Regions from separate parts of the Homo sapiens genome. Here region 2 is linked to region 1. The links are contacts of gene promoters, found by promoter capture Hi-C in blood cells and fetal thymus (Javierre and others, 2016). All regions are on one chromosome and are shown on one strand. The core of a region is centred on a gene start or on the middle of the fragment in contact, and the rest is flanking DNA. Distances in the headings are between cores, read along the strand shown.

What was found. Contacts are between HindIII fragments. The CHiCAGO score rates a contact against its expected background, and 5 or more counts as called.
Region 2: a fragment that was not itself captured here is called in contact with the fragment with the promoter of GSPT2 in region 1 in 2 of 17 cell types (non-activated CD4 T cells and M0 macrophages); the score reaches 9.1 in non-activated CD4 T cells.

What each region holds. Positions count from the first base shown.
Region 1 is chrX:51,741,285-51,746,381 of GRCh38, reverse strand. GSPT2 (G1 to S phase transition 2) reads right to left here and starts at 2,940. Exons shown (of 1, transcript NM_018094.5): 1 at 150-2,940. The coding sequence starts at 2,755. The coding sequence ends at 869. The HindIII fragment of the contact is 6,668 bases long and covers 1-3,581 here.
Region 2 is chrX:52,271,756-52,276,921 of GRCh38, reverse strand. No RefSeq gene overlaps it. Among named protein-coding and RNA genes, the nearest start is that of MIR8088, 62 kb to the left of the region's middle. The HindIII fragment of the contact is 2,219 bases long and covers 2,083-4,301 here.

The DNA of each region.
Region 1 (5,097 bases), core at 1,691-4,190:
AACAACATTGAACAATGTCATACATTGTGCATTGTTGTACGATGTACACCTGCTGTACATTGTTTTGCTTAATGTTGTAGTCTTCAAGAACCTATGGATAATGTTACATGAACTACTGCTATACAAATAAAGACGGCCTGAGCCTTTCATTTTCAAATCACAAGTGGGGAAGCAGAAGAGCTCCTTTATTGACTGGACTTGGACAGAGAAAACAAAGCCCACTGGGAAGAGCCTTAACATACGTTTTTTTCTCAAAATTAAAATTATTCCTTTAATACACACTTATGCATTGTTTGTAAATTCCTCACTTAAAACAGTAAGTGGTGAAGAGTTTTTAAGTTTTTAAGTGATAGAACATATTCAACTATTTGAGAAAGTAATAAAGCTAATTGAATAGCATTACATAATGACATTTAAACATTATTCAAAAGCATTTCAAATAACCGAAGAGTTTCAAATGGAGTATTTTATTCACATGTTAGTTATCATTTTAACACACACACAAACACTGACACACTCTGGTTTGCGTGGAACAAGGGTGGTCTAAATATCCTAAAAGAAAATGAAAAATTAAAGTACATTAATTTTTCATTACTGTAGGCAATTACGTCCACATCACTTACAAAGCTATTACTGATATTGTCCAAGGAAGCAGAGTGGTACAGAGGAAGGAAACTTGAGGGTAAATTCATCAGTGACATAACAGATCTCAACATGAGAAAGCTGACAAAACATGAATTTTTGCTGTGAAATTTCTCTTTGCAAAATATGAAGAAAAGTCAATCAATGGGCAGTAAATAAGAGTAGGTGGTGAACTTTTGCTGTCAATTCTCCTCACAGTATCTTGCAGAGGCATCAAGAAAATTGCTTAGTCCTTCTCTGGGACCAATTTCAGAACTTTTCCAATTGCAATGGTCTTACCCTCATCTCTTAAAGTAAAACGACCCATCTGAGGAAAATCTTTGAACGTCTCGAGGCAGATGGTTCCTGCTGTCCTTAAACGAGCAATGCATACTTGATCTTGTTTCACGAAGCGGGGTCGTGTCTTACTTTTTTCTCCTGATTTTTTGTCTACCAAGGAGATTAACGCTGTTATCTCAACTTCCTCAATACAAGTATGAATGTGCAGCACCGCATTATAACCTGGGCAGATGATGGATTTGTGCTCAATAATCACTATCTGAACATCAAACGTGCGTCCAGAATGGCAGAGGTTACTAGGATCACAAAGTATGAATCCTGGAAGAATCTCTTCTTCTTCAATTCCCTTCAGTCTGATTTTGAGGTTTTCACCTGGGGCTACAAAATCAGTTTCAGTATCATCAGAAAGTATTCCAAGAACTTCTACATTGTGCTTGTTTGGCATCATCACGAGCTGCTGGCCTTTAAAAATGGACCCGGATTCCAGCTTTCCCAGGACCACAGTGCCCATATCTTTGTACTTATCCACAATTGGCAGTCTTATTGGTCCATCAATTGATCTGTTGAAGTTTGGCAAGTTATCCAAATACGGAATAAATGGTAATCCAGTGTACCAAGGGCAGAAATCTGACTGCTCTTTAATATTTGCTCCGGTCAGTCCTGAGCAGGGCATAAAGTGAATGTCCTTTTTTGGACTGAAGCCTACTTTTTTCAAAAAGGGCACCAGTTTTTCTTTACATTCTTCATATCTCTCGATGCTCCAATTTACTGTGGGATCATCCATCTTATTAATAAGCACTATTAAATGTTTTACCCCTGCCGTTTTTGCCAACATCGCATGTTCTCTTGTCTGTCCACCTTTTTCAAATCCAGTTTCAAACTCTCCTTTCCTGGCAGAGATGACCAGCACAGCCAAATCAGCTTGAGAAGCACCACCAATCATATTTGGGACAAAACTCTTGTGGCCAGGGGCATCTAAAATTGTGAAATGTTTCCTTTCTGTTTCAAAATAGGCACGACCCACTTCGACTGTTTTACCCTTGTCTCGTTCCTCCTGATTTGTATCTAAGGCCCAGGACAAATACCAGGTTTCTCTGTTTTTTTCCTTAGCTTCTCTTTCATATTTCTCCAGTGTTCTTTTGTCAACCATTCCAGTCAAAAACATTATCTGTCCTCCGATGGTTGACTTGCCAGCGTCTACATGGCCAATGAATACTACATTTACGTGTTCTTTCTTAGGTGCACCTGAGGGTACGATCACAGATTTGGATTTTCTTATTTCCTCTTTTTCCTCCATCATTTCCTGGCCACTTTCTTCTGGGGGCCCTGAATCTCCCGAGGAACCACCCCCAGGCTCGGCTTCACTTACTTCTTTACTGTGCTCCCATGATTCTTCTAGGGCCATTTCCACCTCTCCATTTTCTACAACAGGTTCTGAAAGTTCCATGGTAACGGCTGAATTGGAACCTTCAAGCGACACTAACGGTTCCTCTCGGGAAGGTTCCACAGGTGCCCCCCGTCCCATCCTTTTACCTTGAGGGTATCCCGCGCCGGTGCAGGTTTCATCGTTGCTGCCGGAGCCGGCCGGGAGGGTGGGCGGCTGAGTCGGGCCCCGCAGGAAGGACGGCACGAACTCCGCGGCGTGTACGTTAGGCACGAAGGGCTTGGCGTTGACGTTGAGCTTACGGCTGAAAGCCGAGCTGAGGGGCTCGCGCTGGGCCTCGGCCACCGCAGAGGAGACTCCATCCCCGCTCGGGGCCGACCCCGGGGATTCCATGTCCACCTGGTCCCAGCAATCGGGCGCCGAGTCGCTGCTGCTGCTGCCCGAATCCATGGTCTCGGAACTTGCTGTGTGGCAGTGAGGGAGCGGGCTCAACAGGCCAGAAGAGCGGGCTCCGCCGGCGGGGTTAAGGCAGCAAGAGCGAAGGGCCAAGGGGTAGCGACACGAACCTTAGCTGCACCGCGGAGGCAGCTAAGCGCCGATGCTGCATTCGCAACTGCGGCGGCAGCAGCAGATATGGCGGCTCAACACTCTCCTCTTGTGTGTGAGCGGATCTCCTCCCCCAAACCCCAACCACTTCCGACTCCTCCACCCCCGACCCAACGCCGGGCGTGGATTGACCCCTCGCTGCTATCCGTACGCTTGGCTTCCTTACTTCTTCTTAGCCACGGGCTAAGTCCAAAAGTATTATTTTTTAAAACGAAAATTTCCATTCACTTTTTTGTTCACACAGTCTGGCAGAGCAATTTGACCACAATCTGATGATTAAACCTAGACAGGAACACATGGTATACAATTCTACCAAAAGATTCAAGTAAAAGTGATCATTTCTATTGAACAAATGGGAGGCAAGATAAGGGTTAACTATACAGAAATTCAGAAACCCAGCAACTGAAGGGAGAGGCAAGGAATGGGTAGGGAGGGACTCATGAAATATATGAGTCTGTAGCCGAACTTAGGAAATGCAACTTAAGATCACTCATTAATTTGAAATCCACAGGCCTTTTGATTTTCCCTTTCCAGTGGGCCCCCATAAGCCTGTAACTTCTGCTGATGGCTTCTATAGTTTAAGGATAGGGTTACAACTTCTTTTCATGTTAAGCACCCTGGCTGTCTGAGGGGAGAGAATTTCCAAGGAGATCCTTGTTCCAGTGAAGCTTCCAGTCACTTCATATGCAGATGCCTGCACAATGGCTGGCCTGCCATTCAATGGTGGATCACGTAGACAAGCACAGGACTCAGATCACTCTTGTTTTACCAACCAACTGAATTCTGGGTTTATCTGCACTACTCCCCAGCACCTCCCTAGTACATCCTGCATCCACAGGCCTCGGGTTTTCCTGCTTCATTCCGGGGGGCCTGGAATCCTACTCACTGCACTGGCTTTGCTCTAAGAAACAATCAGTGTCATGTTGAACCCCTCTACAGTTTATGGTAATGAGACAGGGCTGTAGGTGTCAGCCTAATTAAACCAATTAAGACTTCTGAGATGAACAAAGACCTTAAGACCCTAATCAAAAGAATCTCACTCTCAGAAAGTGTTAACAGTTGAGTCAAAGCCTCAGCGACCTTGTTTGTAAATTAATTTAGTGCAAACTGACATAGAAAATACAAACTTATTCTCTGAATCTGTTTTTAGTCTTCATGTACTCAAATCTGTCACCTTTTGCTTTTATGAATTCAGGTTTTGTGACATACCTAGAAAGACTATTCAGTCCAAACAATCTGCTTAGTACAAGATGGTGTCACATAGATGGATTTATTTTTTTATTTTGAGACAAAGTTTCACTTTTGTTGCCCAGGCTGGAGTGCAGTGGCATGATCTCAGCTCACTGCAACTTCTGCCTCCTGGGTTCAAGCAATTCTCCTGCCTCAGCTTCCTGAGTAGCTGGGATTACAGGCGTCCGCCACCAAGCTCAGCTAATTTTTCTTAATATATATTTTTAGTAGAGACAGGGTTTCACCATGTTGGCCAGACTGGTCTTGAACTCCTGACCTCAGGTGATCCACCTGCCTCGGCCTCCCAAAGTGCTGGGATTACAGGCATGAGCCACCACGCCTGGCCTCATAGTTGGATATTTAAATCCAACAACAAAGCAAAATATTATAAAACCAAGTACCTGATTATAACTTGAGAATTGTGTTCTCCAGACTTTAGGGGTAGGAAAAAAGACAGACTTGGACCCTTGATGTTTTCACTCTGGGGCTGCCACTATTATACTAGCTCTGTACTGTTTCCACACCTTCATTCTTTTTGCCTCCGGTTATGGATTAATTATTTACAGTGACATAAAGAGAATGTGCACACCTATTCACAATAAACAGGAAGAACTGAGAGGTAGAATGTGCAGAGAGACCCTCCACACAAGTGCTGGAGCCTTCTTGGACATTGTGTGAACCTAGAATGGACATTTCTGGGAGAACCTGTCAAGGTTTTGGCAGCCGTGTTCACATAAGGTAATTCATGCAAGGAAGCAGGAGACATCTGGGATTTTTCCTTCACCTGGGTCGAATGCATTGGTCATGAACATATTGGTATGACTGCTACTTAGTGATATCTCAGAGAACAGAGGATACTTCACTGTTAGAACGATAAAGGAGAAGTCAGAAATAGTCTGTGAATGTCCTCATAATCCATCATTCATGAGGTTCCAGGGGAGGCAGTTCAACGCAAG
Region 2 (5,166 bases), core at 1,943-4,442, 530 kb before region 1:
CAACATCACTCCTAGCTATCACTGGAATAATTAAATACTTTACTCACTTAGGACATCAAGATGGCTACAAATTTGTGTAGCTTCTCAACTGGTCTTATCAACTTTCTCATTCACCTCATATTAGCCATCATAGTAACTTTACTGCCTTGTTATTACTTATATTGCCACCAGGGAGACTGTAACCAGATAAATCAAACTAACACAAGCACACACACCCCTCACAGCAGAAAAATTACAAATTTCACTATCTGCTTGTTAAGTATATTATTTGATTAATAATTTGCAGACTGACAGCTATAATGCATCCCCAGCATATGGACTTAGCCTCTCCAGGATCTCCATCATCCATGTATATCCCGCCTTGCCCTCCTTCCTTTTAAGCTTCAGCCTCATGTTCGCCACCTATAGCTTTCAGAGCCCCTTCACCAGATTTCCTTCAGGAATTAGCTCAAGCAGACTGGCCCATACAGGCAGGCATGGACTGGAATTTCAGACCAGACTTTGTAGAATCTAGGCGCCACTGCCACCTTCCTGCTCCTTACGTTTATGAACTAACTGCAGCATTAGGAGCTATTGAAGGTTTAGTTGAAAGTGTACACCCCAATGACTGCATAAGTCTTGCTTGGCTACTAACCTATTATATAAGTTGCATTGCTAAACTGCTTAATAAGAGAGGACAGACCCCATAGAACTACCTTACTTTGTTCTACCCCAACCTAACCCAGCAGCAATACTACTACTGGAAGCAATCTTTGACTATACTACTTAGAGAAATATTAGGATGACATAGATTATTATATCTTAGTTTGTTTTCAGTGCTATATTTAATGCCTATACATCTGATAATTAATAGCAAACATAAGATTGATGCAAATAGCTTAAAATATGTTAGGAGATATAGAAGGGAAATAACAGATACTACTACTACTACTACTACTACTACTACTACTACTACTACTACTGCTACTACTGTTTATTCCTAAAGTAACCATTAAAATTTCTGAGCCTCAAACACATACATATCCAACAGTGCCAACTCATACAGCACCTAAAATCACACGATTACCAGAACAAATTCCGCAATATATACTTCATGAAAATATATCATTTTTGAACAATTGTTAGAAAGTCAAGGGACTGATAAAAGAATACTTAGAGCTTCAATTAGACTATTTTGTTCATATTCATTTGACCCAAAGCAATGCCTGAAGAGCTTTTAGCTTTTACACACACTTCCAATCATTGTATCTTTATAGAATCTTTGCGCATATTCCTAAACATACTTTAGAAGAATGCATAAATGACATGACTAAATGTGACACCCCAACTTATGCAGCTACAATGAAGCATTCAATAACATCTCAAACCATGGATGGCTCACATAATAGGTAGAGAAATGCTAATAGAAACAGACATGCCAATCAAAACAGTTCATTACATAAGAAGCGCTATATCATACCAATCCCCAATCATAGTACCACAGATAGAACCATATGTTGGAAGATCTCACATGACATGCTTGGATATGATACGACACTCCTACAAGTCATTTGTTAATAGTTGGTATGAATTCTGGTACCAATCTGGACTTGAAGGAAATGAACATTATGATTATGAAGTAGATTCAAGGGATGACACAAGACTAAATATAGCTACAAAACCAACCACTTCATCTTACACCCATATATCAGACCCCCACAGGAAAAAGTGTCAATGCCACTAGGATATCCATTAGATTATGATATAATAACAACAGAAGAGGATAAGACATACTATAACTATCATCTAATTAACTTTCCTAACTTGCTGTTTTTTGGAAATTTTGCCTTCACCCACCCTGTTCATCTTATGATTATTACGCAAAAAGCCAAAATTATTTGACAGTCTCACAATTCTTCTTTTTTCTTTTTATTAGACAAAAGAGAGCTGGAGTAACAATTCTTTAATAAGGCTAAAAAATTCTCACTGGCAGAATTATATTGAAAACATAGATGACACCCAGTAATCTTAACTAATGCTGACTATCACTTTACACACACTACCTTTGAAACACACACTAAAACAATGTATGTAGATAAAGCTTGTCTTGAATACAAGTATACTTATACTTGCCCTCCACAAATAAGGAACTTATAAAGATAAAAAATAGAATCAACACTACCCAACAAGATATACATTTTGAGGGACAACCAACATTAATATGCTTTAACCTTAACTTTACATATATTAAAGCTACATTTCATTATCCCACGGATGAAAACCTTATCCTTGCCCATTCTACACTATAAGTTGCTTACTAACATGGTTACACGTTCCAAGATCAACAGGCTTTACAAAACAAAACAAACCAACAGACACAGCACAATTCAGACTTTGGCATAATAAAACACATGCTAAATTTACAACATTAAATGGCAAACTTGGCTACAATATATCAAAACTACCTTTACACAATAAGCAAAGAGTTTATAGAGAATGTAGACAGATATGTTATCATAACTGGAAAGTCCACTCTATGGTGGAATGTGACAGAAACCAAAGCAGGCTTATGTTGGACACAACCACAAAAACCACACTAGTTCCCAGTCATCACAATAGATACAATGACATAGAAAATCCCTACTAAATTTACTGATTGCTGGATGTCGACATCTTCTAGAAACCCATGGACATTAGAAACTGGACATTAGAAACAGTTATTTTTGATAAATTACAACAAACAAAATGGGAACAATTAATATTCACATCTACTCACAGACCAGATATATACAATCTGCTATTATCTAACTCACTCTTAGTACTTGGACCATTCACACTGACCTACAAAACAGCAGAGGTTATTGGCACATTCTTTACAGGAAATGAACCAAGAGACATAACTATATTAGACAAATTTACCAGGAAAACTAAGTATATACAAAATCAAGTTATTTTTACAATGTATCCACTGGTAATTCAGGATGATGTAAACTTTAATTTTGAAGATGTAGATAGAAACAATACACAATTTAAGTCAATTAACTGGTGGGAAACACTAGGAACCAAAATAAATATGGATAAAGTCACAAAAATAGACTCAGGTATGTCAAATTACTTTTTCTTCATGATTCAGCCATTTGATGGATCATAGAATAAAGTTATATGGTCAGTCCAACATCCTATTTATCAAAATATAGCCAAACTAGACTCCCACTTACCTGTATTTGTAGCTAGAGATATCTCTTTTGCAAAATGCTATGTTAAACCCCAGAACCTTGGGCCATGCATAATTCGCAGAGGATGCTGGACTGACACATTGCTTAGGAACACACCACTGGACACCACAGTGTACCAAAGGAATAACAAACCCTCTATCTAAATTATGAAAACCAAATTTAGTTGAACCTATCCTAATTAACCCATTAAGATTAATTTACAAACCAGCACCTAGGAGAGTCAAAATATTTTTCAAAAAAGAACTTAAAGTCACATACATCAAACCACAAGTTATGTAATTTGAGGGACAAGGATATGACAAGCAGTTCATTTTACCAAATTTACCTTCACTAGATAAATATCATCTAAGAAAACCACCACAACTATTTGCAGCAATTGGAATTATTTCAAACTCAGTCATTTCAGGAATACAAGAAGCAAAAATTTAGGAAGTTAATACAGACCTATGAACATAAACGTAACTCCTGCAAACAACTACCACATCTATACTTTCATCTATCTCATAGGCAATTAACGAGATATAGTCAATGATGACTCATACACACGACCTCCCAGAATCCCAAAAGGAATTCAATTACAATATTGATCACAAGTTAAACACCTAAAAACTAACCTATTTACATTAAGAAACTTTATGGTGAAAAACTTGCTGCAAACACAGTGTATTAGGCTAAGTATTTTACTAACTCAGACTTGGAATGACATAAGGAACATTATACACATCAGGAAAATTATTCACAGAAAATTGGGACAAAATGTCTATAGTTAAATTGGATACATCCAAAGCATCAGGATTCAGGGCAATGTATATTAAATCTACTTGAATTAAGAGGAGGAGACTCAATGGCATAAGACACAATGGCAATTACACAGAAAGATAAGACATAATCTACATATAACTGCCTTAGAAAGACCACTATTTATTGATGGTTATTTTATACAAAAAGAATTAATATTCCAATGATCAAACACTATATACTCTACCTGTCAGGACAAAGTTCCTAAACTAGATTACTCAACTATCAGCATCACGAAAATCCCCACAATGACTCTAGACTTATGAAACTTCAATTAGATAATAAGCTTAGAGAGGAACAACACACTGACCTATTATAACTGTGAACCCTGAATATCTGAGACAGGTCTCAGTTAATTTAGAAAGTTTATTTTGCCAAGGCTGAGCACACATGCCTGTGACACAGCCTCAGGAGGTCCTGATGACATGTCCCCAAGGTGGTCAGAGCACAGTTTGGTTTTATATATTTTAGGGGGACATGCAACATCAATCAACATATGTAAGATGAACATTGGTTCAGTCTGGAAAAGGCGGGACAACTCGAAGCAAAGGCTGGACAACTCGAAGCAGGGAGGAGACTTCCAGGTCATAGGTAGATAAGAGACAAATAAATGGTTGCATTCTTTTGAGTTTCTGATGAGCCTCTCTAAAGAAGGCAATCAGATATGCATTTACCAGGGTTATTCCTTGCTGAGAAAATAATTCAGCGATATTTCTCCTATTCACTTTCTGAAAGAAGAGAAATATGACTCTGTTCTGCCCGGCCTCACAGGCAGTCAGACTTTATGGTTATCTTCCTTGTTCCCTGAAAATCGCTGTTATCCTGTTCTTTTCAAGGTGCCCAGATTTCATATTGTTCAAACACACGTGCTTTTCAAACAATGTGTGCAGATAACGCAATCATCACAGGGTCCTGAGGTGACATACATCTTCAGCTTACAAAGATGACAGGATTAAGAGATTAAAGTAAAGACAGGCATAGGAAATTATAAGATTATTGATTGGAGAAGTAATAAATGTCCATGAAATCTTCACAATTTATGTTCAGAGATTGCAGTAAAGACAGGCATAAGAAATTATAAAAGTATTAATTTGGGGAACCAATAAATATCCATGAAATCTTCACAATTTACGTTCTTCTGCCGTGGCTTCAG